5 separate regions of the Homo sapiens genome follow, and regions 1, 2, 3 and 5 are each linked to region 4. The links are contacts of gene promoters, found by promoter capture Hi-C in blood cells and fetal thymus (Javierre and others, 2016). All regions are on one chromosome and are shown on one strand. The core of a region is centred on a gene start or on the middle of the fragment in contact, and the rest is flanking DNA. Distances in the headings are between cores, read along the strand shown.

The links. Contacts are between HindIII fragments. The CHiCAGO score rates a contact against its expected background, and 5 or more counts as called.
Region 1: a fragment that was not itself captured here is called in contact with the fragment with the promoter of SLITRK6 in region 4 in 3 of 17 cell types (M0 macrophages, M1 macrophages and M2 macrophages); the score reaches 5.9 in M0 macrophages.
Region 2: a contact is called between a fragment that was not itself captured here and the fragment with the promoter of SLITRK6 in region 4, in 8 of 17 cell types (M2 macrophages, M0 macrophages, megakaryocytes and 5 more). The highest score is 23.4, in M2 macrophages.
Region 3: a contact is called between a fragment that was not itself captured here and the fragment with the promoter of SLITRK6 in region 4, in 3 of 17 cell types (M2 macrophages, M0 macrophages and erythroblasts). The highest score is 9.1, in M2 macrophages.
Region 5: a fragment that was not itself captured here is called in contact with the fragment with the promoter of SLITRK6 in region 4 in 3 of 17 cell types (M1 macrophages, M2 macrophages and M0 macrophages); the score reaches 8.1 in M1 macrophages.

The regions. Positions count from the first base shown.
Region 1 is chr13:84,877,278-84,882,299 of GRCh38, forward strand. It overlaps LOC105370290 (a long non-coding RNA gene), which reads right to left. Exons shown (of 8, transcript XR_007063929.1): 5 at 4,324-4,354. Among named protein-coding and RNA genes, the nearest start is that of SNORA107, 96 kb to the left of the region's middle. The HindIII fragment of the contact is 4,992 bases long and covers 1-3,906 here.
Region 2 is chr13:84,930,508-84,935,173 of GRCh38, forward strand. No RefSeq gene overlaps it. Among named protein-coding and RNA genes, the nearest start is that of SNORA107, 150 kb to the left of the region's middle. The HindIII fragment of the contact is 4,207 bases long and covers 1-4,153 here.
Region 3 is chr13:84,856,080-84,861,404 of GRCh38, forward strand. No RefSeq gene overlaps it. Among named protein-coding and RNA genes, the nearest start is that of SNORA107, 75 kb to the left of the region's middle. The HindIII fragment of the contact is 2,010 bases long and covers 881-2,890 here.
Region 4 is chr13:85,797,444-85,802,027 of GRCh38, forward strand. SLITRK6 (SLIT and NTRK like family member 6) reads right to left here and starts at 1,976. Exons shown (of 2, transcript NM_032229.3): 1 at 1,471-1,976. The HindIII fragment of the contact is 4,986 bases long and covers 1-3,840 here.
Region 5 is chr13:84,947,465-84,952,362 of GRCh38, forward strand. No RefSeq gene overlaps it. Among named protein-coding and RNA genes, the nearest start is that of SNORA107, 170 kb to the left of the region's middle. The HindIII fragment of the contact is 2,566 bases long and covers 540-3,105 here.

The sequences.
Region 1 (5,022 bases), core at 161-2,660, 920 kb before region 4:
GACTCAAGGTACCCACTGTGGTGTGGGGCTGGTTTCCCCAACATTATTTTACTCTTTTGTTAGTTCAGTCTCTGCAATTGATTCCTGTTCTGCTCGATATTGGATCAAAAATCCTCATGAATACGTCAGCTCTCCATGAGAGCCCTGGAAAATTTTCTGTCTATTCCAATGTTACAATCTCTAAAATTATGAGAAACCTATATTTAACAGTGATCCTTAGACTTCTATAGCTGGTTATAAACTGCCTTGTTAAAGGATTAAATTAAAATGTCTTAGAACAGCTATAGTTAAAGATACAATTGACAAGGAAATTTAGTTCTGTGTCATTCAACTATTTTACATAATAATTATAATTACTATTGATAACATATACTAAGACATATTAGAGTCACAGGAATCTCATATAATCTTGCAATAAATACTACTAACACATTTATATAAATATAATCCAAAGATGGTTAAACATCATTTTATATTTGACAATGCTTCCTATATGATTTTATTACATCAAATAAGCCAAACATTTATTTTTGGACTTCAAGGGACCTACTAACAAAAAATTAATGAGGTCAATAGGACTGAATTTAGCACGTGATTTTAGAAAGTTCATCAAACATAAAAAGTTTAAAACACTTGACATCACAGAATAGGATCACAGGTCACTGTAAAATAAGTCATTCATTTAGCCAAAGTAAAAACTCAAAGATTTCCCCCTAAAAAGCAAAAACCTTTATTATTTGAGACAGGAGAATTAATTTCCCAAGCAATAAGCTCTAATAAAAACACCATGAGACTAGTTGAATCTGTCTCTCAAATGTTATAAACAAATCTATTTAATTTTAATTACCTTGACCCTAAGATATAATTTCCATAAATCTTTTTATAAAATTTTATACTTTTTTTAAAGATTTGGTTAATGCTCCAAGAAAGGCTTATTATTCTGACTCAGGGGCCTATATGCTGCTCTTGCATCAGTGTGCATTTGATATTAATGTTAAATTTATAGAGAAACTGAGTTAATTTTATCTCTCAAAATGGGCTATTACAATCTCATGTGACTACCTCTTCTGCAATAGTATCTGGGTCTACAGGGGTTCAATAGTTTTAATTTCTGGCTCTCTGTCTCACAAAGGCAGTTTATTTTGATTGTCATCATCTCTCAGTTCTGATGAAGGCTTTAACTGCTGTGAATGCTTAATATTTAGCAGTACTTGGTGTCCTTTTTAGACCCAGGAGTCAAAGTACTGTAATGTAATAGCACAGGACTCTAAAAGCAATACAGAAAGTTACATGGATATAAAAGGCTTAATTTTTTAAAGTTTTTAATTATTTGTTTTTAAGTTATAATTTGTTTTAATTTAAGTTTTCCTAGGGAAATCAAAACTTAGTAAAAATGACATAGAAATTATTTCAACAAAACATAAAATTTATTTGTTACACCAGTTACAAAAAGGCAAAAAAAGAAAAAACAAGAAAAGTCCTTCTGCAGTGTGATTGCTTGTCTTTCCCTATGGGGAGTTCATTTAGATAACTTGGAAGTCAAAACTAATAAAAATGATACTTGAATTAGTCAAACATAGGAAGAGTGTATCCTGGGGCATAAGTGGAGCTTTTTTGTTTCGTTAAAGCCAAAGGCACAGAATGTTATGTTGAAAGAAGATATTTCCTTTAGAGCTTTAAGATAAAACATTTTTCGCATCAGGCCGCAATAGCAGTTAGAACCCGAGAGAAAAAATTTGAAGGAGTTATTATTTCATGTTTTCTCAAATGGGGGAGAAAACTGAAAACAATGAGATGCAATAAAAGTCGAAATTTGGGGTTAAAATAAATTAAATCTCTTGTAATTTTATTACGAGCAAATAAATAAGACAATTTTGGTGTTCCTACCAATTCTTTAGTGTGTTAGTGTATTTTTAATATCAAAGCCCAATATTTAGAAACACTTTTATAAATAATTTCCTTTTATTATAGCCAATGTGTTCATTTAAAGTTTTCTTTCTCATAAATTCTCTTTGTACAAATCTGATCATGACTTACACAAACCATTTGCATTATACTCAGACTTCCTGTTTTATCCTAAGCATCCCTCTCTCCTAAATAACCAATTATTTTACTTTAGGACAAAAATTATCTTACAAGATTATTTCCCATACACAATTATTTTCCTTTTAACCTTTACTAGCTGAAACGCCTCTTTATATTTATAACTTTCTTTGCATCTCTCTTATTTATTGGTTCCTTTTACTTTGTTTCATAAGTAATCTTTAAATAACTTTTGAATTAGGCAAAAATTATTTTCCTTTAAATAAGAACACATTTAAAAAATGATTTCCTATAATTTTTAAAACATTGGAAATGACCCAGACATTTAATGACCATCTTTTATTTAGTTTAATATAATTTTAGATTCTAAATAATATGACAAATTTATTTATAAGCATTTATTCCATTACATTTACCTGATTAATTTATTTTTAATAGTTTACCGTAGATTACTTATGAAAAATGTGATAGTTATTATTTAAAGTTATTTTCCTGTTAACCATTTGTATATCCTGTGAATTTCAGGTGTTTACTTAAGAATAATAAGGTTAAGTAATTCTTTTTGTCAATAACTCAAGATTTAGCTGTTTGTATTGAACAAGCAATATTAAATGCCTTATTTATAAAAAATGACACAAATAAAGATAATTCTCTTTTGGGCTGCATTTATAGCTTTATAACCCTCATGGCAAATTTTGACAGCTTATAATATCTAGCAGAGATAAATTTAAAACTATTTGACCAATAAATCTAAACAATAATGTATGCTGACAATTCTGAAGACATTTCTAATTTTATTTTACCAACGAGCTTACTTATTAAATATTAATTTAAGTCAGGTAAACTTAAAATGGATTTGGGCTTAAAGCCTCTATTTTTCTGATACAGCATTTGATTTAAGCACTTTTTTTTCTTTACGCCAATGAATTAGAGCTCTTTTTAATATTTTTTGTAGTGAAACATATACATGACATACATTATATATTAAATAAATACACAGATATATTAGATATGCAGGTAGAAGTACATCTTATAGATCCACAAGACCCTTTTCTTTTTCTGCTATTTTAGACTTTCAATTTCTTGATAATCTGTTTCATTACTCCAGGCAACTGTAAGCTGGAGAGCCCTAAATTTGCTTACTTAAGTAACAACTCTTAGGTGAAAATCAGATAGCAAAATTCACACTTCAAAGTACAGAGAGATAGAGGAGAGAGAGATAGAGAAGAGAGAAAGAGAGTCTGTTGTATGAGAGGGAGATTAAAAATAGATGCCAAATCAAACATAAAATTCTATCTTCCACAGGATTGTATAAGAGGACCAATTTTATTTAGTAGGTAGTTTTAAATTTAGTCTCTATCTTTTAACTGGATCACTGGGCTCTGAGCAAAGCTCCCACTGAATCCCAGGTCTGCAAAAAAAGGGCTGTCATGAGATTAAGCCACGTGATGCTTTTACACTGCACTTTGTTATAAAGACATTTCTCTGTCTAAACCACACCCTTTCTTATCTTAAACAATCAAGAGTAGCCCCTGTTGTAATAATTATTTAAGTCCAAAAAAATCATATAACACAATACAAAAACAAGTAGTTGAAGATCTGAGAGGAGCTTTTCTTTTTAAACTTTTGGAGTTTACGTAAGGAAAGACAAGGGTTTCTCTCCGAAAAGGAGTCTGGGAAAATAATGATTCCTCAATAGACTATAAAAGAAACTGGTAAAATGGTTTCTTCTGATTACATGGAAGAAAGATCACGGGCATAACGACTTTATAGTTCTTGTGTAAGAAATTATAAAACAAAACATTAGTATTCTGTGCTGCTTACTATTGAATGCAAAAAGGAAAACATGAAGTATTAATTTTAAGCTTGTTTTAAAATGGGAGTCCAAAACCATGACAATTTAAAGAAGCATTTGCTTCTCATACCCAATTTTTAAAATATTAAAATGAAGAAAGCCCTTGAGTTATAAAACAATTTAACCATTCTTATATTAATGATGAAATATCATTAATATTTCATCAATATCAAGTGTGATTTCAAACAATACCGCACTTATTGTTTAAACCTCTGTGCAAAATAAGAGTCTCAGATTAAAGAATAATATGGTTTTCAGCTAATCTTTTCTTTCCATTGGACAAAAATACCTTAGGAGATAAAGCTAATCATCTGTGCCATGCTAACATTGTGAGCCCAATATATTTGTGATAGATCCATAAAGAAGGCATAGAGATGAGAAAGCAAAGATGTATATAAATACAAGAAGCAGACTATAAATCTTACCATGAACATGATTATTTTCTCACAGTGCTCTCTGCAATCAAAGAAAAATAAAAGCCAATTAAAATTAAGGAAAGTATATAGGCCTGAGTTAATAAAGAGGCTAAGAACTTTAAAGATGTAAAGCTCCCTCTATGCCCTCCACATCTATTAGCAGAAAATGGAATGTACATAATTTTTCACCCAAGCTTCTAAGGCCAAAAAAAAAAAAAATGTAAATGAAGATTCCCCCAACAGGTGGAAACAGTGATTCTGGAGAATAATGTACACGGGAGCTTCTTTCAGAGACAAGAGTGAAGGCCTCGGCCGGGCGCGGTGGCTCATGCCTGTAATCCCAGCATTTTGGGAGGCAGAGGCAGGTGGATCACGAGGTCAGGAGATCGAGACCATCCTGGCTAACACAGTGAAACGCTGTCTCTACTAAAAATACAAAAAATTAGCCGGGCGTGGTGGTGAGTGCTTGTAGTCCCAGTAAGTAGGGTGGCTGAGGCAGGAGAATGGCGTGAACACGGGAGGCGGAGCTTGCAGTGAGCCGAGATCGTGCCACTGCACTCCAGCCTGGGCGACAGAGCGAGACTCCATCTCAAAAAAAAAAAAAAAAAAGAAAAAAGAATGAAAGCCTCCTTGTGTCTGCATCTACCAGAGGTCCTGAACTCTGAACTCAATGTCATGACAAAATGGGGATTTTGTCTCACTTGGGAA
Region 2 (4,666 bases), core at 800-3,299, 870 kb before region 4:
GGTTCCTTTTCAATCTGTGATCTATTAGGTGACATACATATATATATACATACCTATGTTCAATCTGTGATCAATTAGGTAACGTGTGTGTGTGTGTGTGTGTGTGTGTGTGTGTGTGTGTGTGTAAAACCTAATTGACCCAAGTAAAACTTCTAATAATAAGTTTAATACAATTGCCTATAATGCAATTCTTATTTTCCTTCTAATGATAGGGTGTTTCTTTGATCTCAAGTGAACAATGCTTAGCAAAAATAATGCATAATTTCAAAATCAAATGTTTACATTTTTTACCTAACTTCCTAAAAAATTGTTAAAAAATGAGTAGCACAAATAGTTTTTTTCTTAATTTCACTTGTCAATACATCATTACTTGTAGAAATTATAAGCTAGTATTATATTAAACTAGTAATTATTTCTGTGAAAAGAATACTAAATATGACAAAACAAAAACAGTAATGGAGTTTACAAACTATAATTAGAAATAAATTTCAAGTGTTTGTAATTAATTCTATTCACAGTATGGTAACATTGATGTTAACTATCTAGAAAAATATCAAAAAGATAATATACAGCTTTATCATTTTACAGCATTTATATTTTAGAAAATAATTTAAAGTATTATTTACTACTTTCACTTAGTAACTGATAGCCAATGCAAACAGAATACTTTTTTATTTAAGAAAAATTTTATTATTATTAACAGCAGTTGCTACTTGTCTGATTTGCTACTTATGGGATTTGATAAAAATACATTTTAGAATCTGTTCATTTTGGTACTTCAAAAACCCTCTTTGTACTCACTATAAATAATCATATATCTTTCTGTCCTCAGTGAAAATGAAGAGTGATGAAAATGATTGTGTTATGTACTTATTATAAATGGACTGTTCTCAGTGCAGGATTCCAGGAATAATATGTAATATTCAAAACATCATACACATCTCACTAAAGTCCAAGAATATGAGTGAGATCATAGAAAGCATAGAATTTCAAATACCCTGGTTTAAATCTACATACTCTCAGCCTCATATTGAAGTTCTCTTATTTCTTTAATACCTTTCAGAATCTTCAGGAGCAAAATTTGAATGTATTCAAAACTCCCTCGGGAATAACAAACAGTTCACTCAGCCCAGACTGCTCAAAATCTTTTACATCCTTGTTCTCATTGCTCTAAATTCCCATTATTCATTTTACCTTTGCTAACAAGATCTGGTTTTGTTTCTTTGATTCTTTTCCTCAATTATAATCATTGTCCCCTCCAAAGTTAAACTCTTCATAATTCTTGGCACCTAACAAATGGTGGATTTACTCCCGGTGGTGCTACATTTCACTCTGGCTATAAATTATTTTACATGTGCCCCACAAAAATCTTCAAGACTTGTCTATATTTCAGCAGAAATGAGACATTATAACTCACGTTCTGCTTAGGAGACTCTGTTCTTCTTACATTAGTTGAAACTTTATACCTATGTGGATTAAGTGGAGGCTGAACATTGCCTAATTCCACATAACGGGCATATATGGATGTCAGCTGTAGGCCAGCCAGTATACAGATACCATAATATGCCTATATTAAATAGTAATAGTCTTATGTTGACTAATCTGAAGATGTTAAAATTAAAAAACTTTAATGTTTGTCTGTATTTACTCTAAGATTATACTAAAATTTATTTAGTAACTCATTTTTAAAATGTTGACATTACTGTTTTTGGGAGGGTGGGGTAGGGTCCCGCTCTGTCACCCAGGATGGAGTGCAGTGGCTGGATTATGGCTCACTGCATCCCCAACTTCCTGGGCTCAAGCAATCCTCCTGCCTCAGCCTCCTGGGTAGCTGGGACTACATCATGCACTACCTCACCTGGCTCATTTTTTGTAGTTTTTTTGTGGAGATGGGGTCTCACCATGTTGCCCAGGCTGGTCGCAAACTCCTGGGTTCAAGTGACCCACCCGCCTCAGCCTCCCAAAGTGTTGAGATTACAGGTGTAAGCCACAATGCCTACCTTACTTTTTGCCTTGGTGTGGTAGCTCATATCTGTAATCCCAGCATTTTGGAAGGCTGTGGCGGGAGGATCACTTGAGAACAAGAGTTGGAGACCAGTCTGGACAACATAGCAAGACCCTATCTTTACAAAAAAAATCAAAAAGAAGTTTTAAAAGTAAAATGTTTATATTACTTTTAGTATTACTACAGTAAGTAATAATTAAAATATTCTTAAATATGAAAAATAGAAAGTATATTAAATGTTCTTGGAATTAATCTCTATGAGTAGAAATACTGGGTCCCAATGCATGAGATTACATAGATTGTCAAAACCCTTTTCATAACCCTTCCAGGTGCCTCTTATATTCTTGCAAACATTTGATGGCTGAAAATGAGATATCATTTGATGATATAATTTTATGGTTACCATCACATAAATTTTATTTTATATGTATTGACAATTAGGTTTTCTTCCATCACCTATCTTTTTATCTCTTCTTGCACTTTCTACTAATGTCTTTATTCTCTTCCTTTGCATTGTACTAGAGTTTACGTCTGCATGCCATTGATTCTTATTACTAACAATATATGAATAAAATTTATGTTCTTCATCATTTCCACTATAAATGGTAATTATAATATTTTGTCTAGGGTTTCACAGCCTTTCTTCAAAATCCCATCCATTTACTTCTTGGTCTTAGCCTCTCTTTACAGAGTGTTTTCTGCTCCAGTTCCTTAGAGCCACAGGCTTTTGTGTCCTACAGAAGAGTCTAAATCATTCCCTACATTTGATAAAATGAAATATTCAGAGTGATGCTTTTGCCATCATTGTGTAAGAAGGTTATAGTCTTACTTTGTTCTGAAGTATTTTTTCCAGTGATCAAGTGTCAGTCCTCATTTTATTTAATCACTCCGCAGCATTTGACACACTTGATCACATCTTTTCACTTGATTACTCTCCTAGCTCACCAGTCATTCTAAGTCTCTTTTGTTGGCTCTCCTCTTATGTACCTGTACAGGCTGCACTTTCCCAGGACTGTGTTTTACTGTCTGTTTTTCTATCTTTACATTTACTACCCAGGGAATGCTATACAGGCCCAGGTGTTTAAATGTTGTAAATGCTGATACTTTCTACTGTAGTTTCTCTAGCCCTCGTTTTTCTATTGACTTGGGTATGAGATCAAATTCCTTACAAATGAAGACTGACAGAGGGATTGACATACAAGGAACCTACTAAGGGGATGTTGTCATGGGTGGCCACAAAGAGCCTCAGGAAACAGAATAAGGAATAGATGAAACCAAGCAACAATTTGGTTTCAGATAAGGAGCCACAGAGTTTGTTCCACCTGGAAGAAACAAAGATGGGCTATTTCTCTTCATATGTGATGACAAGGAAGAAATTGTGTGATGTGAGGTGGTTCTGATAGCCCAAGAACAATGTATGAGCAGATGTGAGCAGCAATGTAGGCGATGCATGCAGCCATTCAGTGAACTTTGACACTAGGGCATTTGGGTGTTGCAACAACAGTGTCTGCTTCAATGTCAGATTGCTTACTTGATATCTCTGCTTTAACATTAAGAGTCACCTAACATAAAACCATTTTAAAGTAGAATTCTGTGCCTTTTGACAAACTCTTCCAGTCTCATGATTGCTCAGTCTTCCCTAAGGAAAAAAAATTCAAAGCAGAGTGCTAAATTGAAGATAAATGTTTGCTTGGTACACTAACTTGCTTTCTATACTTGGTGACTCTCATGTTCCTGCATAGAGAACAGAATTCTCATTTGTACATCAAAGAACAACATCACTATGAACTTCTGGGCACTTAGGGAATATACTTATTATGATGATAAATTAACTGTATCTATATTTGAGTATCTCTTCTGCCTCTTTTTCCTAGTTGTGTTATCTTTCAGAGATATCTTACAAAAGAAAACCGGTTCTGAGGGGAAAGGTTTCCAATGAAAGCCTGTAGATTTTGTTGATTTAGATTCTGTCATTGTATTATATCATTTTCAATGCATTAAATTTTTATAGGTCTAAGGTAACCTTTCAAATTTTAAGAGCACTCTAATGGATTTTCACTGTACTGCCTGTATTTGAGTGAAATCATACAGCTCTCCTAGCTTTATCAAATTATTTATCTGACTCTGCTAAAACACCTAAACAATCCAAGCTTTTTATTCAGTGAATCAAATATTACACAATAAAATAAAGAGGGATGCACTTATACATGTGTATGAAAATGGAAAAGAGTCACAACATAAATTTAACCAGTTATAAATTTAGATATCCCATCCAGCAACTAATTAAATATAGTAATATAACATATTAGTTTTTAAAGCATATTTTTATTTAGAGAGGACAAAAAGACACTCAGCTATCTTATACTTGGTTGTGATTCTTACTTTCTTTGGAAATAGAACATAATAATATAGTTTTTACATCCCTAGGACATTTTCTCAGTTGGATGTTTCAGAGTAGACTACTTATTTTTAATGATTTGATATTCTGTCTTCACTGCCTTTTACACGGTTAAGTTACTTTCACTTTTATATTGCTAAAAATATTGTTCAACTAAAAACACTGAAGTCTCAAAAGCTGCACATATAAGCGCAATTAATGACTGGCAGTCAGTGTCCTTCATTTAGACTATCTGAAATTCATAGTGCAGCTTTATGCTCGTA
Region 3 (5,325 bases), core at 636-3,135, 940 kb before region 4:
ACAGGAATGGGCATTCAAGGTGAATTGAAATGTAATTCACTTGGTTTCTGTTGGAGTTCATAGCATGAGCTAGACACTTGACAATCCCTTCCCTCTCCAACATTAAATTTTTAAAATAACTTTATGAACACATGTTATTTTAATTATTGATATGTAGTATCATTTTAATATCCATATATTTATATATATATAACCCCAATGACTTTTTTAAAATTAATATTTACTTGGTATATTCGTACTCATACATGTATGTACATAGTATCAAAACTAAATCTTAATATCTATATTAAAACAGATTGATAGAATATTTCTGAATATTTAAAACATTTATAATTATTATGTAATAATTATTGGATTGATCAGAATAATAGTTACCTATAGGTGTCCAAATGGACAAGTGGATTCTAAAAGATTTTTCTTTAAATGCTGAAATAAATCCATTTTTACTTAAAAATAAATCGCTTTTAAAATATTTTCCAAACAAAAATATCTCAATGTTTAACAGTAACTAAATAATGCTGTTTACTTTTATGGTTATGTTTTCTACATACCCTCTATTTTCCTTTTATGAGATATATAACTATTTTTCGTTTATAAGAAAAATAAATCAATGTTTGTTTATATAATTTCTATAAACAAAGCACTTATTATTTATTTTATCACATGTATACAGCAAAACACCAACAAAATATCAAGGAATCAATTACCACACGTTATTCCTGATGTACAATGTAGTTAGATATTAGCATGTATGTAATTACACATAGCCCTTACACACACATATTTATAAATTTTAAAAGCTTTGGACTTCATGAAGCTGTGGAAAGGAATTAGTCTCTGGTGTAGTGTTACTGTCTTTGTGTCTGATGTTAGAGCCTGAAGCTTGAAGTCTATAAGGCATCAAGGAAAGAGAGATAAATTCAAGTAAGTTAGGGGAAAACAAGAAGCTGAAACCCACAAGCAGGAGCTAGTGCCCATAGGGACAGACTAACATCTATGTCAATATTTTCTGTTCTTGATCTCAGTAAGGTGTATATTTAGCAGAAGCCAGGGATCTTTTTTTTTTTTTATTATACTTTAAGTTCTGAGATACATGTGCAGAACGTGCAGGTTTGTTACATAGGTATACACGTGCCATGGTGGTTTGCTGCACCCATCAACCCATCGTCTACATTAGGTATTCCTCCTAATGCTCTCCCTCCCCAGCCCCCCACCCCCAGACAGGCCCCGATGTGTGATGTTCCCCTCCCTGTGTCCATGTGTTCTCATTGTTCAACTCTCACTTATGAGTGAGAACATAAGGTATTTGGTTTTCTGTTCCTGTGTTAGTTTGCTGAGAATGATGGTTTCCAGATTCATCCATGTCCCTGCAAAGGACATGAACTCATTTTTTATGGCTGCATAGTATTCCATGGTGTATATTTGCCATATTTTCTTTATCCAGTCTATCATTGATGGGCATTTGGATTGGTTCCAAGTCTTTGCTATTGTAGATAGTGCTCCAATAAACATATGTGTGCATGAGTCTTTACAGTAGAATGATTTATAATCCTCTGGATATATACCCAGTAATGGGATTGCTGGGTCAAATGGTATTTCTGGTTCTAGATCCTTGAAGAATCGCCACGCTGTCTTCCACAATGGTTGAACTAATTTACACTCCGACCAACAGTGTAAAAGCGTTCCTATTTCTCCACATCCTCTCCAGCATCTGTTGTTTCCTGACTTTTTAATGATCGCCATTCTAACTGGTGTGAGATGGTATCTCATTGTGGTTTCAATTCATATTTCTCTAATGACCAGTGACGATGAGCTTTTTTTCATATGTTTGTTGGCTGCATAAATGTTTTCTTTTGAGAAGTGTCTGTTCATATCCTTCGCCCACTTTTTGATAGGGTTTTTTTTTTCTTATAAATTTGTTTAAGTTCCTTGTATATTCTGGATATTAGCCCTTTGTCAGACGGATAGATTGCCAAAATTTTCTCCCATTCTGTAGGTTGCCTGTTCGCACTGATGATAGTTTCTTTTGCTGTGCAGAAGCTCTTTAGTTTAATTAGATCCCATTTGTCAATTTTGGCTGATACTGTCTCACAAGTCATTGATGTTCTTCTTCATTTTGTTTTCAGTCTTACATATATGTTTTATTTTCAAGTTTTAACTGTTTTTCTTCTATAAACTCTCTGGTTATTCTTTTCATCTATTGTTTGTTTGTTTTTTAATTCCAGAGACTTTATTTTTCATCTCCAAAATTTTGACTTGCCATCTTTTCCATAAGTTATGTTTTGTTTCTGTGTTTGTTTTGAGACAGGGTATTCCTCTGTTGCCCAGGTTGGAGTGCAGTGGCAAGATCTTTGCTCAGTGCAACCTCTGTCTCCCAGACTCAAGTGATCCTGCCACCTCAGCCTCCCAAGCAGCTGGGACTACAGGTGTGAGGCGCCATGCCTAGCTAATTTTTGTACTTGTGGTAGAGATGGGTTTTGGCCATGTTGTGCAGGCTGGTCTCCAACTCCTGAGCTCAAGTAATCCATCTGCCTTGGCTTCACAAAGTGCTAGGATTACAGGTGTAAGCCACCGCACCTGGCTGATGATCATTTTTAAACATACTTTCTGAGCATATCAAACAGATATTTATGATATCTGTTTTTATATCTTTTTCTTCTAGTTCCATTATTACTGTCACTTTTTTTGTTTCTAGTTATTGTTGTTTTATTTTCCTGATTATAGTTTATGTCATCCTTTTATTTTTTGAGCCTGAAAATGTTATAGGAAATGCTAGGAGGTGTCAATGTGATATTGTCAGATGCTAAATTTCTTTGTGTTCCCTTAAATAATATTGGACGTTTCATAATACACAGTTAAGTTGCCTGAATGATGGGTTTTTCTTCTACAAAGCTTTTAAGCTTCATTACAGAGGATACAGAGCAATGTTAGGCATAATTTAGTCCCACTAAAACTTAGATACATTTGAGGACCTCACCTCAACAATGTGCCATTACAGGGTCTCTGTGATAATCTATTAGATTTACAATTCTAATTTTTATATTTCAGTTCTTATTACATTTGATGTATACATTTTGATATGGTATCATGAAAGACTTCAGTTTTATATTTAAAACGTTTAGAGTTTTTTTATCATTGATTTTAACAATTTTTTTTCAAAACTCTCATTAAAATCACCTGTGATTTGTATTTCATAGTTTATCATCACTGGATGTGAAACCTCCATTTAGTGCCACTGCCCACATTATTACTATAATCACTTTTTGCCCTCTGGGGTTTTTGAAAGTTTTCTTTTTTAAAAACATGTACACCCAAACATGTGAAATTCCCTAAGCTTGTCACAGTGATCTCTAATATATTCTATTAGAAATGATCACTGTCTCCTAGGCTTTCAGTAATTTTAATTTCACTAATTTTTTTTCAACAGCTATATATTAATTGCCTAGCACATGAATATCTTATAAGGACAGAATTGTAGGAAAAGGAAACTTTATTCCTACCTGAGACTTATAGTATATTGAGGATTTTAGCCATTAACTTTTAAAATCACTTTTTTAAAATTTAAAAATCACAAAACTGTCTATACTTTAATGATCTGTACAATTTTGTTAAGCTTTTCATAACAAATGATGTTTATGAATGAAAATTTAGAAGTGATACAGCAAACACATAAAATGGGGCTACCTTAGACTGAGGGCCAGATTAGTGACTTCTCAGGTTATGTGACAGTTAATGTGCTGTATAACTATGCAACAAAATAATTATTAGAATGATTTTATACTATTATATTTGACTTGGTATTTTGTTTCATGGAAAATGAAGAAACAAAGTCATATATGATATCTATATTTATTCACATATTAATTTGTGCAGTTGTTTTAGTTGCTGAATAATTTTAACACCTTATCTGAGATGGAAAAAAGTGATGATATGTAGGAATACTTGAGAAAATAAAGTCGCTAAATTGACACCTTCTCTCCTTGAAAGGGAGGACGCTATGATGAGAAACATACTTTCCAAATCTTACCATCAGGGCCTCCTCCCATGTGGTGCTACCCCACTGCATATCTATGTAATACATGGCCTGTTCTCTGATCCAGAGACATCATCCTTTCTGTTAGAATTTCTGTCTATCTATGATTAACAAACATGTTAATTTACCATAACTCACTTATATGGAAGAAAACAGCTTTTTCTTAGATATACCTGGCTTTATATATGAAAGCTTTTACTATTTTGTATCTTTGTTTGCTGTTTCTAAAATTCTCTGTTATATATCTAAATAATACTTATTTATATAAGTGACTATGGTCAAGAACCTTCATGATCTGAGGTCTTTGCTCTTTCTATTTGTCCTACTTCTTGAAAGTATGCCAACAATTTTTTTTCTATCCAGTCTATCCTGTCTTTGGCTTAATTTTTCTTCAAAACTACTGTTCTTCCTTCTTGTTTCCAATTTTTATACCATCTTTTTAGATTTTAAAATGTTCAGCTTTCTTGTTCAATTGGTTTCATCCATTTGATGTTCAGTGGTGTGCTGTTGTGTTCATTTCATCAGTTTCATTTTTATTTCCTCTTTACATGTCTTACAACACTTTTTCCCATATGAATTTATTCCAACTTGCTTGATATACTCCATACCTAGGCTCATTATCCCTTCTGATAGCTGTAAGAAGAGACACTAAATTAACTCTAAAGTGTGTTAATCATATGAGTTAAAGAGAGGTGTATCTTTAGGATTGCAAATGAGCCCCTTCATTTCATGTAAAGTCTACCTCCAGGGTACCTCCAAATTTCTGCATCATATATCTCGTTCTTGTGTTTAGGTGCAGCTAGCCTCTAAATAATTCCCTATACCAAGGTTAGAGTAAAAGAGGGTTCAGAGGCGTGCAGTCCAGCCACCACCACCCTCTTGGCTACTCAATGTAGTAACAGTCCAGCATCTCCTTAATATTACCCTACCTGTTGTCTCTACTGTTTTGTTGCCTCCTGATATGAAAGGATCTGGCAAAATTCCAGGATTATAGGATCTGGGCTAATGATATAATCTGGGCCAGAAGTCGTAATAATGAAATCATTTTTATTGATTCATAATGCTATCAAGAGAATTTTGAACACCCCTACTGGCTCAAAAATGGAAGCTGATGTTTGAGTAAAACCTGAGACAGATTTTCAGCTTTGAACTCATAATCATTTTGTTATATCTCTAATCTTACGTTCTCACAGTCACAATATAAAGGACAGAAACAGAAAATCCAGAAACTATTTTTTCCCCAAGACTATTCTCAGCCCTTTGGTCCTCTAGTCCCTTTCAGGTCCATGCCT
Region 4 (4,584 bases), core at 726-3,225:
CTTTAACACACATTTCAGGCTGTTGTAAAAGAATAAACAATGCTTCATATAAACTTCTAGCAAATGACTTCCTAATGAGGTCTTGAAACAGTCTTTAGGGCACGGAATGTCATCACATAATTAAGCAGCTTTAAGCCTTTATTAAAAGGCTTAAAGTCGCAAACAATGAAATCTGAAACAAACTGTACCATATTAAACTTTTTGATGATATTTCAAATTCAGTAAAAGAAAAAAAGGATGGTTCAGAATAACATCACGTATTCTAATCCTGAAACACATAACAAATGCATCTGAAACAGCAATTCTTAAAAAGGTTTTGCCCTTTAAATGACAGTTATGCAAGGTAAACATTTATAGCTCTAATGAGATCTAATTTTATTTCCTTCCTTTAAATATTATACTTTAAACTTATATAAACTAAATTGAAATATAAACACATCTTATGACTATTCAACTTTTCAAAATAGTAATCAGTTTTCATTTTTGTTGTTTGAAATATGAACAGTAACTGAATCAAATTAAAATTCACAATCAGGTAAAACATACCAGAACCCAATCAACAATCCTGAAAGTAAACTTGCATTCCCTGAAAACATAGTGTTTTATTGAAAACACATATAGTACAAAGTTCCTGAAAGGCAAAAGGCAACTGAAGAAACAAAACAACATACTGCCTCTGTGTAAAGGGAAAGTTAGAAGATTTTATTTTTCTGTAGGTAAATAATTTGATTTTAAACAGCTTTGTGTGCTGAGTTTATAAACAAGCAGCTTGTAGTTGGAGTCTTCAACTTGTGGATTAGCTTCCACAATCACTAAAAGTACTTATTCATAAATTACCAAGAAAGAATAAGATTTATTTCACCAGGTATAGCATCAGAGAAAATAGTAAATAATTTTTCAGTGATAAACTCTTGTTATTTTGTAAATCCTGTATGAATTTTATGCTCTTCAAAACGTGCTAGGAAACAGTTTCTAATCTTTTCAGAAACACACACAGATGTGAAAAGTGGTTCTCTACTGACAATATCTGATACAGTGGTAAAGAGGTCAAAAGATACTCATTGACATGTTTTCTGAGAATACGTATTTTCAAATCAGAAAATAAGTAGCATACAAAATGCAAAGAATTATTCAATATTCTGCTTATATTTGCAATTCAACATTCGCATTTGGAAGTGATCCTTCCTTCAGAAAGCACACATATTTAGTTTCTAACAACAAACTGCATGTTGCAAAAGAAATAGTGGAATATTATATTTGTTCTTCTCTGTAGCCAGCTGTTAGACTAAATGTCTGCTTCTCAGAGAATACAGGCATCTGCTCCAGTGTTAGTTGTGCCAGTAAGCAAGAATGAAATTGAGTATCCTTTAATGCAAAGTTGTTTATTTAAAGGAAGCGAACATACAAATTCAATCACTTTACTATAATGCAAAAATAAGTATAAGAAAAGCCTGGAAACATTCATCTTACCTGTAAAGCAGAGACTCTTCCTGACGTTATCTGTAATGCACAGCTGGAAGAGGTGTTCAAAGTAATTCAATTCCTTTATTAAAAAAAAGAAAACACCAACCACTGCGTACTTTCTTCTCAAATATCACTTTTTGTCAAGTCCCATAGCTTCATAAAGTTAAAACCTCTGGTCAAAGATAGAATACTGAGCATTTCATTGAAAATATTTCAAGCAGAGTGCATACTAGAGCATCCTGAAGCAATTGTCCCTTTTTCCCTCAATTAAAATTCACGGCATACTTCACAGCTATGCTGACTTTTTTGCATATAGTTAACCATTTGCAAGCTGCTGAATGCAGTAAGTAAACAAGATGTTTAACAGAGCTGAGATTGATCACTCTTGCTTTCTTAGGTTGTAGATCCAAGCTACAGCAATGTTCTCCTTCCTCCTTTTCTAGTATTTCTTGTTAGCTCAGTTTGTTATTAGTCAGATTGCCAAGGGCTGGGAGGTAGGCGTAAATAAAGAGACTTCTTGGCTTTTGACTCAGCCTTTAAGCCCTTCCCCATCAGAGCGTTTTAATCTGCCAGTGTCATATAACACAAGAGACAGCTCCACCTTGGGACTGCTCAACTCCTCCTCTTTCTGCAAATGGTCTTTCCACTCCTTTCAATACCAAATATAGTGCAAGTGAATTTTGATGGAAATAATAACACGTCATTTTAAATGCTTAATAGTACATTGTGTTATAGCAAGCTAAATAATACGTTATGTTAAATTCTCAACTAACACTGTTCTGTAGTGTTTGCACACATGTGTGCAGGAAACACAAGAATGCTGCCTATAGAGTAGTTGCCTCTTTTTTTTCTTTTTTTTTTTAAATCTGGTATTTATAGTTGAAATTGTGCACTAACTAGATTGTAAAATGTTAACACGAACTGCTTCCCTGCAATATTTGTATTTTTGTATTCACCATTTAACTTTTTTAAAGCCTTATGTTAGGGACTCTAAGTTTTTACTTCATTATTTCTTTCCCTAGAGCTAATATTCAATAATTAAACTTAGAAATGAAGATCTTTCAGTTATTTTAATATATTTATTTAGAAGAAAAGCATAATTATTTTAAAATATATTTAAAAATCTTTAAACACAAAATAATTATCATTGATAAAGTTCTGTTTATCACTTTCAAAAATATAACATTATATCTTTACAGATAAAATGAAACAAGTGAAATATGTAGATATTACAATAACCTGATTTGTATAGTGCTAGCTCAGAGAGAATTTATTCTTAATAGGTTATATCTTAAAAGTTGCGTGTTTCTTCAGCTCTTAAAAGTTTCTGAATCATCACCATTATTACTCTTGTCAGATTCCTTATTTCTCAAAAAGCCTGTGGTTTAAAAAGTTATTCTTCTTACCTACCTTCCTGAACTTTTTCACATCCAAAGTGCATATACTAGATGCTGTCTTTTATTTGTTTATTCTGTTTAGAATAAATACAGATTCTAGAGGCCTTCTATGTAATAGTAGGTGTCATTTCAGAAAGTGCTGTTTTTAAAAAGGAGAGTTGATATAGTTTAAATCATCAAAATAGAAGAATATCACATTATTATTTAATGACATACACTCAGATTGATATAGTTTTATCGTCTCAGGGTGGTATATTGGCTCTAAACACATAAGGGCTCTGTGGGAATTTTCAGTATTCTCACTTTACTTTATATTTCCCAGTAATTAAGTTTCTCGTTTATTTTAATGACATTTTGTGCTTTAACATGGAAAAGAGATGATGATACAGAGGAGGGGGTTCGAAAATACAATAAAAATAAAAAAATGAGAGAATGAAGAGTATAAGTGAAGTTAAATATAAATAATTAGTGTTTGGCACAATTTCCTGCTAGCTGCTAGCCAAATTAATTAAATCAAGGTAATTATTTAGATAGATAGTTAGAAATTAGAATTTTAATCAATAAAAAAAGAAGGGGCAAGAATAATTTCCCTCCCAACCCTGTAGTCCTAATTTTTCACATGCATTCCTTTAGGTTTTGCAGTCAAGTGCATAGGAGAAATATTCTAGTAGCATAGTATGTGGAGCAAAATTTTTCAAGCCTACATATGGACAAATGAAAGTAATTTCTTTGTAGATTGACACATGTTTCTCTCATGTCCTTCAATTTGATCATGTATCTATTTTATCAGTCATATACACATAGCAGAAATTTGAAGATTTTTATCATGAATTCCTTTCCTACATAATGAATCTTGTCTTTTTAGTGCATAAATTACTGGGCAATTGCAGTAATTACTGGTCAATTCCCCATGATGGTAAGGGAGAGAAATATTGACTAAACACACTTTTTTAAAAAAAAATTATTCAGTTGTTCTATAAGCTTTCATTGGGAATAAAAAACTAAAAAAAAATTATTTGAGGAGCAATCTATAACTTTTAATTTAAAGTGGTAATGTTGATAATGAATTACTCAGCATTATCTCAAACTTAGTTAAAATATACACTAGCACATCTGAAAAGATCGTAGACAAGTCTGCTGTTCTCTAGGTTTTTTTCACTGTAATTCTTCAGTCATTATATCAAATCAGTACTGTAGCCATTTTTTCCAAAATGTTTATTATGGCAGGATATGTGCTAATGATTATTGAACAACATTTATTTTAACAATATTTTTAATTTCCAAGTAATCAATGGGAAAGTACTTTCTTAGTGTAGTTTTAATAATAAATTCATCACATGATTATAATAAACAATGAATTTTATTTATCTTCCCACCTAATCTATGCCTGCTCCCCCGTAACTTCAAATTATTATTATGTATTATTATTATTGTTATTATATATAGAGACAGGGTCTCACTCTGTTATCCAGGCTGGAGTACAGTGGTGCAATCGCAGCTCACAGTAACCTCCAACTCCTAGGCTCAAGAGATCCTCCCATCTCAGCCTCATAATAAGTACCTGGGACTTGGGGCATGCACTACCATGCCCAGTTGATTCTTTTATTTTTTTTATAGAGATGGGGGTCTTACCAGGTTTCCCAGGCTGTTCTCAAACTCCTGGCCTCAAGTGACCCTCCCATCTTGGCCTCCCAAAGTGCTAGGATTACAGGCTAATTATTAA
Region 5 (4,898 bases), core at 573-3,072, 850 kb before region 4:
ATTTGTGTACTGTCCTGTTTTAATTTTTAAATAATTCATTTGAAATAAAATTAGCTATCAGGTTTAAAAGTAAACTGAAAACAAACATTCTTGTTCAAAAAGCATTGACAGGCTGGGTGCAGTGGCTCACACCTGTAATACCAGCAATTTGGGAGGCTGAGGCGGGTGGATCACTTGAGATCAGGAGCTCAAGACCAGCCTCTGCAACATGGTGAAACCCCATCTCTACTAAAAATACAAAAAAATTTAGCCAGGTGGTAGTGGTGCATGCCTGTAATACCAGCTACTTGGGAGGCTAAGGCAGCATAATCGCTTGAGCCTGGGAGGCGGCAGTTTTGGTGAGCTGAGAGCGTGCCACTGCCTCCAGTCGGGACGACAGAGTGAGACCCTGTCTCAAAAAACCAAAACAAAAAAACAAAGACCATTTACAGAATAGAGGTAGACTTCCTCCAGACCCCAGCCTAAACACACACACACACACACACACACACACACACACACACACACACACGGAGGGAGAGAGAGAGTTTTCTATTAAAAGCTTGAAAGTTTGAGGAGAAGAAATTCCAACAGCATCTATGTGAAATGATCCAGTGGTCAGTTCTATATACTGGCCAGGATTTCTGAAGAGATGTTGTCATGGTGAGAAAAAGAGATTTGAGATTCATCAGAATATGTTATAGTTGGTACTTAAGGCTATAAACTTTGGAAAAACGTTAAAAAGAAGAAACTAAATATGTATGTAATGGACCCCAGGATAATATCTATGAATATGCCGATAGTTAGATTTTAGCAGAGGAGTAGAACCAGAAACAGGAGGTGAGTGGAAGAGCAGCCAGTTATGATGGAGTATTATTTCAGCAAGCCAAGAGAAGTTATTTCAAAGAAGTGTCATGTAGATAATAAAGCAAAAGTAGGGTGACTTGGTGACTAAAAAGTGGCCACTGGATCTGCCAACAGAAAGGCTATTTTGAAATTAATAATAGCAGTTATAATAAAGGCTGAGATGAGAACCTTTTTGGGAAGGGAAACTGAGGTGCTCAAGTCTCCCCAAAACTGACAGATAACAGATGAATTTCCCTGTGTAGGAGAGTAGAGAAATGGAGTGCTGAGGGGGAAGTGTTTAGTGCTTTTTATTTTTTAGATAGACATATTAAAGTGTCTCCGCTGTCTTTTTAACCAAATTTATTATAGTCATACTGAAACCAGCCCAATTGCCCCATCAAGTTAACATTTATAGTTTCTTCTGAATAAACATGGAAATCAGCACTCCCAGTCTTAAAATGGGAGAAAGTTACAAATGTCTTATCTGACTTTTTTCTCAGGATTCCCAGATAGTTACCAGATCACTCCATCTGGACAATGAGACTCCAGACCCCTCACCCACCACAATTGCCTAACCAACCACCTGCTTTCTGTTGACCAACTCCTCTTCCTTACCCCTCCCTGTTTCCTGTTTCCCATATGGATACATTTCTTCCTTCTATATAAACCCCTAATTTTAGTGGTTCAGAGAGCTGGATTTGAGATGGATCTTCCATCTCCTTGCATGCAGCACCCAAATAAACCCTTCTTCCCTGCCAATACTTGTTGTCTCAGTAATTGGCTTTCTTTGCAGAGAGCAGCAGGACCTAGACTGAACCCTTGGTCTAAGGTTCTACCTAAAAAAATTACATTTTATTTTTTCCTGTGTTTTTGTGAGACAGACTCAAGACTAACCGGTTTCATGCCATGTCAGGGTTTTGTAATTATTGATATATTTATAAGCTACATGTGTATATGATTTCTTTGCTTAGTCCTATTATCTTTTGTATTTCATTACTGTCATATTTTTTCTATATCATTTCCAATAGATCATGTTTTATTTAATTTACCTGAATTTTTTTTTGGATATTTTCTTCTGGTACTATTTGAAAACTTTCAAATTAATTTTTCTATCAGAGTATTTGTCTTTTAAGATATTTCCATTAAGTCTTTCTTTTATAAAATACAGTGATTTCATAATAATTTTTATCCTGTGCCTAATGTTTTGTTCTTTCTATTTTTTTTTATCTGAGGTAGTATAGGGTAAGGTAAGGTAAGGTAGAACTGAAAATGAATTTCAGCTCTTCACTGCTGTAACTTTGTTGCAGTGTCCATATCAAGCATTTGATTTTTCCAACCCTATACATAGATTTACACATATATGTTTGTTCTACATTACTGTTTTTAGATCACCTGCACCTCAACCTGTTTCTTCCAGCTTTCTTCTCCCAAATCTTCTCCATCTACAACAACACCCTTTCTGGCTTCACTGATATTCTTATTTATAAATATTAGCTGGTTATCTTCAAGTCTCTAGATTAGGGAAACAGAAAGTAAGGCTTAGTGTTTCTTCCAGCTTTGGCCTAGTTTCTCTTCATCCACTGAAACATGAACATATTAGCTTGATTCTCAAAATCTAGGGTCATGAAAAGCACTTGGAGACTTTGGTAAAACCAAATTTCCAGAAGCCATAATTTTCAGATGTTCTGATTCAGTAGATATGAAGTACGTCTTGATGATTTGCTTGTCCAACATTTCCCAAGGCTGCTGCTGCTGTTTTTCTGGGGATCTCATATTGAGAAAGATTGATATAGACTGAAGGAATTCCCCACATCACCAATGTTAATTAGAAAATGATGGCCTTTCATGGTGTCTTATTCCTTGTACGGTTTAGCTCTGCATCCCCACCCAAATCTCATCTCAATTTGTAACCCCCATGTGTCAAAGGAGGGATATGGTGGGAGGTGATTGAATCATGGAGGCAGTTTCCCCGATGCTGTTCTCATGATAACGAGTGAGTTCTCATGAGATCTGATGGTTTAAGTTTCATACTTCCTCTTTCACTCTTTCTCTCCTTCTGCCATATGAGATGTGCCTTGATTCTCCTTCGCCTTCTGCCATGATTCTAAGTTTCCTGAGCCCTCCCCAGCCATGAGGAACTATGAGGCAATTAAAGCCTTTTTTTCTTTATACATTACTCAGTATCAGGCAGTTCTTTCTAGCACTGTGAAAATGGACTAATGCACACCTGTAATCCCCACACTTTGGGAGGCTGAGGCAGGAGGATCACTTGAGGCCAGAAGCTTGAGACCAGCCTGGTCAATATGATGAGACCTTTTGTGTACAAAAAAATGCAAACAAATTAGCTGGGTGTGGTGACACACACCTATAGTCCCAGCTACTTGAGAAGCTAATGCAGGAGGATCACTCACGGTAGCCTCCACCTCCTCCACACCACTACTTCCAGCCTGAGCAAAAGGGTGAGATCCTGTCTCAAAAAGAAAAAAAAAAGAGAAACAAATATGACTTATTTTCTATCGCAAGCACATGAGAACATCTGCTGAAAGATCCTAGTCACTCTAGTATTCAATGCATCTCAACTCATAATCATTTGAACCAAAGCCTTTTCACATAAATGATGGAAAACATAATTAAAAGCTGTGAAGGTTGATCATAATAATAAAGATACTGCCATCCACTTAATGAGCCATTCAGACACTTCACTTCAGACTCCCACATTACTTGATGTACTCTCCCTTTTTCACTCTTTCTACAGTTTTCAATGTCTTTTTAGGAAACCTACTAAACACATACTTGAGTAATATATCTCTTCCTTGCCAGGAAGCAATAATGTCAGATCTATTCCAATACCTATTTGTTGATCTTATTTTTGACCATTTGTATTTGTTTTACGTACTGCATAATGAATTAAGAAAATGTTAGCAGCTTTAATATTACACATCTATTACCTCATAGTTTCTGCAGGTGAGAAATACAAAGATGAATTAGATGAGTCATTTGCCTAAGGCCTCACAAGACTAAAATCAAAGTATCATCCAAGGCTGGTTTATAATCCAAAGGCTCCACCAGGGGACCAAACTGTTTACCACCTCCCTTAGGTCATTGGTAGAATTCATGTCCTTACAGTTTTAGAGTTATGGCAGTTTGCTTCTTTAAAACCAACCACACAGAGATAAAGATTAGGGTGAGTAAGCAACCAAATGGAGTCTTACCAAATGTAATCTCATATGGTGTACCTTTGCCATATTCTCCAGGCTAGAAACAAGTCACAGGTTCTTCTCACAGTAAGAAGAAATGATAAAAAAGCATGAACCACAAAGAGCAAAAAACATGCAGATCACTTTTTAATCTGTCCACTGCACCATTTAATAGCTCCTTTTAAGTAAATTTGTCAGCTATTAATCCAATAATCATCTTTTAATTTTTATGTCGAAGCTTAAAGCATGATGATAAACTCCTACTTCATAGCATAGTTGCAACTGAGGAGCTGAGGTATAATAATAATAGTAGTAAAATAATAAATAATATAATAATAAAATATGTAATTGTTTATCATAATAAATTGATCTACTTCTTTAGGGGCGTATATTCTTAATGGCTGCTTTTAAATGTCATGATTTCTTAAAATTCTTAACATGTTGGTGAATATCATATATAAAAAAACAAAATTAAATGGTTCATGGCAGAAACTTTAGGACAGGTATCATATCATTTGTTTTTCTAAAATGACAATGTAAGAATCTTCCTGCCTGCATAAAAAGCTAGCTCAGATATTGACAATATTCCAAACAAAATATTTAATCAATATTCCAAATATATGCATTCATTTTAGAATACTATATTTCACATGCCATTAAATATATATTTATTTTTGAGGTTTTCTAACCTCTAATATTCCACATCAAAACTAATTTTAACATATGATATAGGCTTTGAAAAATATACCTATACAAATTAGAAAGATTTGTCAAAAGATTCATAAAACTATTTTGTTTATAAACTTTTCCTGCTCATTGGTCATTCATATATCTTTTGCATTTTTCTGAAAGCATTTTTTTCCATACTACCTAAAC